2 separate regions of the Homo sapiens genome follow, and region 2 is linked to region 1. The links are contacts of gene promoters, found by promoter capture Hi-C in human tissues and cell types (Jung and others, 2019). All regions are on one chromosome and are shown on one strand. Each heading gives the region's core, a stretch centred on a gene start or on the middle of the fragment in contact. The rest is flanking DNA. Distances are from core to core; before and after follow the strand shown.

Region 1 (2,937 bases), core at 287-2,786:
ATTTATTGAGAACCTAATGTATGCCAAGCTTGTAAAATGCAGTGGGGGGTATGACCTATTCCCAGGTCTCTGGACTCTGGCAGAATGGTAGAGAAGATGCTGTCGGGCTTGCATGTTCAGAACACCGTGTCTTAGGTGACCTCCCGGGCCTTTGGAGGCCCAACCCCAGGGTGGCGGGATAGCCAGGTGAGGCTTTGTTTGGCCTGTTCACGTTTCTCTGGAAAAGAATGGGGGTAGTTAGGCCAGGCGCGGTGGCTCATGCCTGTAATCCCAGCACTTTGGGAGGCCAAGACAGGTGGATCACTTGAGGTCAGGAGATCGAGACCAGCCTGGCCAATGTACAGTGAAACCCTGTCTCTACTAAAAATACAAAATTTAGCTGGGTGTGGTGGTGCATGCCTGTAGTCACAGCTACTTGGGAGGCTGAGGCAGGAGAATTGCTTGAACCCAGGACGCAGAGATCGCAGTGAGCCGAGATTGCACCACTGCATTCCAGCCTGGGCGACAGAGTGAGACTCCATCTCTAAAAAAAAACAAAAGAGAAAAAGAAGTATTATTCTGCAGCCGAAAGGAAGTAGAGATGCACTAAGAAGATCACAGTAGAGTTTGGAACATTTTTGGAGTAAACTGAACAAAATAAAAACGGAGCAGCATGGGAATTATTTTAGCTTCCACCAAAAGGGTCTGTTTCTGCTATAGTTAACGGAAGTTTTCAATTTTCAAAAAATCCCAGTAGCTCGCTGAGTTTCAGCCTCCTGTAATTCAAGTACTGACAGCAGGTACTACTCTTCTTGGCAACAGAGTGAAAAAGGTTTTAAAGATGTTCCCGGGGCGTTAGCTTTGGTGCTGGAGTTGTAACGGCTCATTATGTGTATACAGCATGGAACTGGCAAAGACTGTCACAAGCAAAAAGAACACAAAAAGAGAAAGTAAAGGCTCTGGCTCTCGGTACTTATGGAAATCTCATCGTCATTAATTTGCACAAAGCCATTAAAAATAGCATTTACCAGCAGGGGTCCAGCGTTAATTAGAACCCAGCCTGGGAGCAGCTGGAACTCTCGGCGCTCCTGGCTCAGTCCTCGCCGCCCTGAACCCGTCTGCACCGCAGGGCCCGAGTGGGAGGCAGAGGCCACATTTCTGGATATGAGCAAAAGCTCCGACATTTCGTCCACTCTCGTGTTGTGAACTTTAAAAAATTCTGGAATCTGTTGAGAATTTGGCAATAAGTTTTTAACCACTAAATATGTCAACAACGCATCGCCTCTACTTTTACCAAAAAATAGGCGCACGAAACTCCGCTGTTTGCGCCCGCGGACACCTGTCCCCGCCTCCTCGCAGGAAGCGGCCCCCGCGCGTGGGCGCGGGCTCGGGCTCGGGCTCGAGTGGCGACGTGGGCCGCGGTCCTGGAGGGGGAGAAGCGCCCGGCGGGCAGGCGCGGGGCAGGGAAGCCCCGGGGAACCCACAGCCCCTCCGCAGACCCAGCCAGGGGGCGCGCGCCCGAAAACGCCCCGTGTGCACGCGCCCGCCCCCCTCCCCGCGCCCCGCGCGCGCCCCTCGCAGCCTGGAGCCGGAGCGCTGGCTCCGCGCGGCCTGGAGAGGCGGAGAGGCCTGTCCACCGCCCCCTCTGCCGCCCACGCCCCGCTGCGGGTCGGAGGAGCAGCTCCCGCTCGCAGGTGCTCGGAGAGGCCGGGCCGCGGCTCCCACAGGTGCCGGGAAGCGGCCGCGCGCATGCGCCGGAGCCCACCCGCCTGGCTGCGCGTCCCGGGCCCGGCGGCTGAAGAGGAGCCGCGGCGAGGTAGGGCGGACCCCGGGGAGGCAGCGGCGGGGCCTGGCGGGCGGAGCGGGAAGCAGCCCGAGGCGCGGGTCGGAGGGGGCGGCGGGTGGGAGGTGGTCGGCGAGAGCGGCAGTAGGCGGGAGGGGAGAAAAGGGGAGGCCGGCAGGGGAGAGGCGGGGAGGGGAGGCCGGCAGGGGAGGGAGGGGAGCGGAGCGGAGGGGAGGGGAGGGGGGACCGGGAGAGGAGGGGGCAGCGCTGCCCGCGGCGGGGTGGGCGGCGGTGGGTGGTCTCCGCTCCGCCTCCGGGAGGCCGCGTGGGGGGCGTGGGGGCCTCCTCGCGGGGTCTCCACAGGCCCTCCCCCGGGACGCGGCAACCCCGGCCGGAAGACAATGAGCCGCCCGCGCCGCGCCCGCAGTCACCGCCCCCGCCGAGGGTCCCGCCGCCCCAGCCGGCACGGAAGCAGGAGCAGAAGCCGAAGCCAAGCGCGCGGGGCCAGGGCGGGGGCTCCTCCCGGGGTTGCTCCGCTTGGCTCTCGGCGGTCGCGGGGATCGGCTGTCCGGAGCGAACGGGGGTCTCTCCTGGACTCGGGGCCCTGGGGAGGGGAGCGCGGCCCTTGGTCCTCCGCCGCTGCGCCCGGGGTGCGGGGGTGTCCTGGCTGCTGACCCCCGCGAGCCCCGAGCACCGCGACCCACCCGCCCCACCGCGCCGCGGCTCCCGAGTCCTGCCGGGCGCCCCTTGCAGCCCCCGCCCCATGTGCTGGGGAGACCCCCGGGCGGTCTGGGCGGGATTCCGCAGGGGTCCCTCCTCTCAGGCGGGGCTCATTCTGGAGCATGAAAAGAGGGTGAACCAAAGTCCCTCCACCTCTTTAGAGTCCTACAAAACCACGTTTCCCCCTCCACCCACTCCAGTGTCTATTCTAAGGAAAAGAAAAGGAACAAATCAGTGCAGCGAGCTTTATTCTACTCAGCCCACGAAAGGCGCCGCCGTCAGATTTTAAAGTTCCAGCCATCCCCTCAGGCCCTGAGTGAGAAGTTCGCCCGATTCCCCGCGGTTCCCGCCTCCATTTCCCACTAAGGAGCAGTTACTCAGGCTCCAATTAGGACCCCTTAATGGATGTCAATGGAACCCTTCAGCCTTTTATCCTGAGCTAATAGTGTGCTATT
Region 2 (2,937 bases), core at 199-2,698, 230 kb before region 1:
GCTCCGCTTCCCATTCCGCCATGACGCCACGAGCAGAATGATTTCTCACATTTTTTTTTTTTTTTTGAGACGGAGTCTAGTTCTGTCACCCAAGCTGGAGTGCAGTGGTGTGATCTTGGATCACTGCAACCTCTGCCTTCTGGGTTCAAGCGATTCTCCTGCCTCAGCCTCCCGAGTAGCTGGGATTACATGTGCCTGCCATTACGCCCAGCTAATTTTTGTATTTTTAATAGAGGCGGGGTTTCACCAATGTTGGGAAGGCTGGTCTCGATCTCCTGACCTCAGGTGATCCGCCCCCCTCAACCTCCCAAAGTGCTAGGATTACAGGCATGAGCCACTGCGCCCGGCCAATTTCTAATATTTCGGAGGCCTCACCAGTCGCAGATGCTGGCACCATGCTCCCTGTGAAGGCTGCAGAGAGGTGAGCCAAACACACCTCTTTTCTTTATAAATTACTCAGCTTCAGGTAGTCCTTGATAGCAAAACAAATGGACTAAGACACTCATCCTAACTCAGACCCCAGCTTCCCCATGAAGCTGTCAGCAAGACAGCAGCTATGCTCCCCTCCTCCCTCCAGAGTCTGATGGCCTCAGTCCCAGCACGTAGTTCAACCTCCAACTTGACTCTGCCTACCTCATGCAAATGAGCCTATCTCTTTATTCTTCAGGATCCAAAATGGCAACTCCCTGAAGCCAGAGAACCCATCAGAACTTAAAAGTAGACAATTTTTTTAGAGCAGTTTTTGGCTCACAGTAAAATGCACAGAAGGTACAGACACCTGCCATTCGCTGCCTGTCCCCTCTCCCCTGCACGCATAGCCACCCCCCACCAGCAAGTGTGGTGCATTTGTTACCATTGGTGAACCCACATGGACACGTCTTCATTGCCTGGAGTCCGTGGTTTACACGAGGGCTCGCTCTAGGTGTTGTTCATCCTCTGGGTCTGCACAGATGTACACTGACTCTTATCCACCATGACAGTGCCATGCAGAGTAGCTTCACTGCCCTGAAGATCCTCTGTGCAGTGTAACTTCATCACCGTTAGGAAGAAAACAATCTCTTTTAACATCACGTGTGAATAAGACAGATGATGTCCCAGCCCACCATGGGGCTTCCCATTCTTGTGAGGTGGGAAGGGCAGGACAGAAAATAAACAGTCCACAAAGAGATAAAAATAATTATCATGTCATTTTTATGACATGATAGATCATTCTATCATGAATGTTTAAGATCATTCAATGAGTGAAATGCAAGGACATGAGCGAGTAAGAGAGGGAGGCAGGCCCGACAGGTAGTGGCGTCCCAGGTGGTAGCTCCTCCTCGGAGCCCAGCCAGAGTTGAGACCTGAAGGATGAGGAGGACTTGGTCCTTGGACAATAGAAGAAATAAAGACCCAGGTAGAGAGGCAAAAGCAAATGTGAAGGCCCAGAAGCTTGAAAAGGCTGAGCCTGTCCTGGGAGTTATCAGAGGCACAGTCTGATCAGAGTGGAGTCAATAAGGAGTGGTGGTGAGACCCACGTTGGGTAAGGACAGAGACGTCCCATGCTTGACTCCTTGGACATGTGACCTCAGCTTCCTTAGCTGTAAAACGTGACAGGTGGCCAGGCGCGTTGGCTCATGCCTGTAATCCCAGCACTTTCGGGAGGCCGAGGCGGGTGGATCACGAGGTCAGGAGATCAAGACCATCCTGTCTAACACTGTGAAACCCCGTCTCTACTAAAAATTCAAAAAATTAGCCAGGCGTGGTGGCACGCAGCTGTAGTCCCAGCTACTAGGGAGGCTGAGGCAGGAGAATCGCTTGAACCCGAGAGGCGGAGCTTGCAATGAGCAGAGATCACACCACTGCACTCCAGCCTGGGCAAGAAAGCGAGACTCCGTCTCAAAAAAAAACAAAACAACAACAACAAAAAACACAAAACAAAATATGACAGGTGCCACTTGCTGTTGTGGAGGACATCCAGATGCTGTGAGTGATAAAGAAATGCGTGATGGCAGAATCTTTGTTTCCAAGAGTTTATAATTTGGTGGAAATAAAGTGGAGAAGCAGGAAGACCTACACAGTGGACTGGCAGAGCAGCAGAGTCCCTTGACCGTGCTGCAGGGCATTTCAAAGAGGACGGCAACGGGAGGTAAAAGAGGACGGCGAGGGGAGGAGGTGTCTGCTCCCAGGGAAACCTCCCCTGGGTGTTTGGCGATGTCTTCCCCACGTTCACATGATAACCTTTATCTGTCATGAGCAGGTGAAGGTTCAGATAAACACACAAACAGTGATCCTGTCAACATTCTTGTGCATGACCTTGTGTGCAATATGTTTGCATTTCTGCTGGTCGTGGGGAATCACAGTGTCGCCATGGAAGCTTCAGTTCAGTTTCAGTGGTTATTGGTCCAGGGTCAATGCAAAAATGTTACTTCCCCCCAGGGGTGCGCAAGTGAGTTCAGTTTCCACACAGTAGTGTGTGAGTGAGTTCAGGCCCCGCCGTGGTGTGTGAGTTCAGTCCCCTCAGTGCTGTGTGAGTGAGTTCAGTCCCCCCATGGTGTGTGAGTGAGTTCAGTTCTCCTCAGCAGTGTGTGAGTTCAGTTCCCACCAACAGTGTCTGAGTTCAGTTTCTCTGTATCCACACTGATTCCTGCTCCTCTTTCCTGACTTTGCTGTCCTGGCGGCTATGTAGTGATATCTCACTGTGGTTGTAAGCAGCAGCCACTGATGAATAACACAGGGGAGCATCCGTTGAGTAGCCATTTTGATCTTTTCTTTGGTACAGTGCTTGTTCAGGTCTTTTGCCCATTTCTCTATTTAAATCGCTTGTTTTTTCTAATTGATTTGTAGGAATTTCTTGCATGCTCTAAACTCAGGGGTCAAGGCTGTGGTCTGGTGTTGGTGTGGGTGTTGCACTCCTGCTGTCCCAGTCCCAGGTACTTGGGAGGCTGAGATAGGAGG

What was found. The method cuts DNA at HindIII sites, captures the fragments that hold promoters and counts their contacts. A contact is called where the count stands out against the background at its distance.
Region 2: a contact is called between a fragment that was not itself captured here and the fragment with the promoter of KBTBD11 in region 1, in 1 of the 25 tissues and cell types used here (spleen).

The regions. Positions count from the first base shown.
Region 1 is chr8:1,972,141-1,975,077 of GRCh38, forward strand. KBTBD11 (kelch repeat and BTB domain containing 11) reads left to right here and starts at 1,537. Exons shown (of 2, transcript NM_014867.3): 1 at 1,537-1,795. KBTBD11-AS1 (KBTBD11 antisense RNA 1) reads right to left here and starts at 1,205. Exons shown (of 3, transcript NR_136275.1): 1 at 1,008-1,205; 2 at 400-523; 3 at 1-217. All of the region lies in intron 2 of KBTBD11-OT1 (KBTBD11 overlapping transcript 1), which reads left to right. The HindIII fragment of the contact is 1,977 bases long and covers 1-1,791 here.
Region 2 is chr8:1,739,835-1,742,771 of GRCh38, forward strand. No RefSeq gene overlaps it. Among named protein-coding and RNA genes, the nearest start is that of CLN8, 22 kb to the right of the region's middle. The HindIII fragment of the contact is 5,059 bases long and covers 1-2,937 here.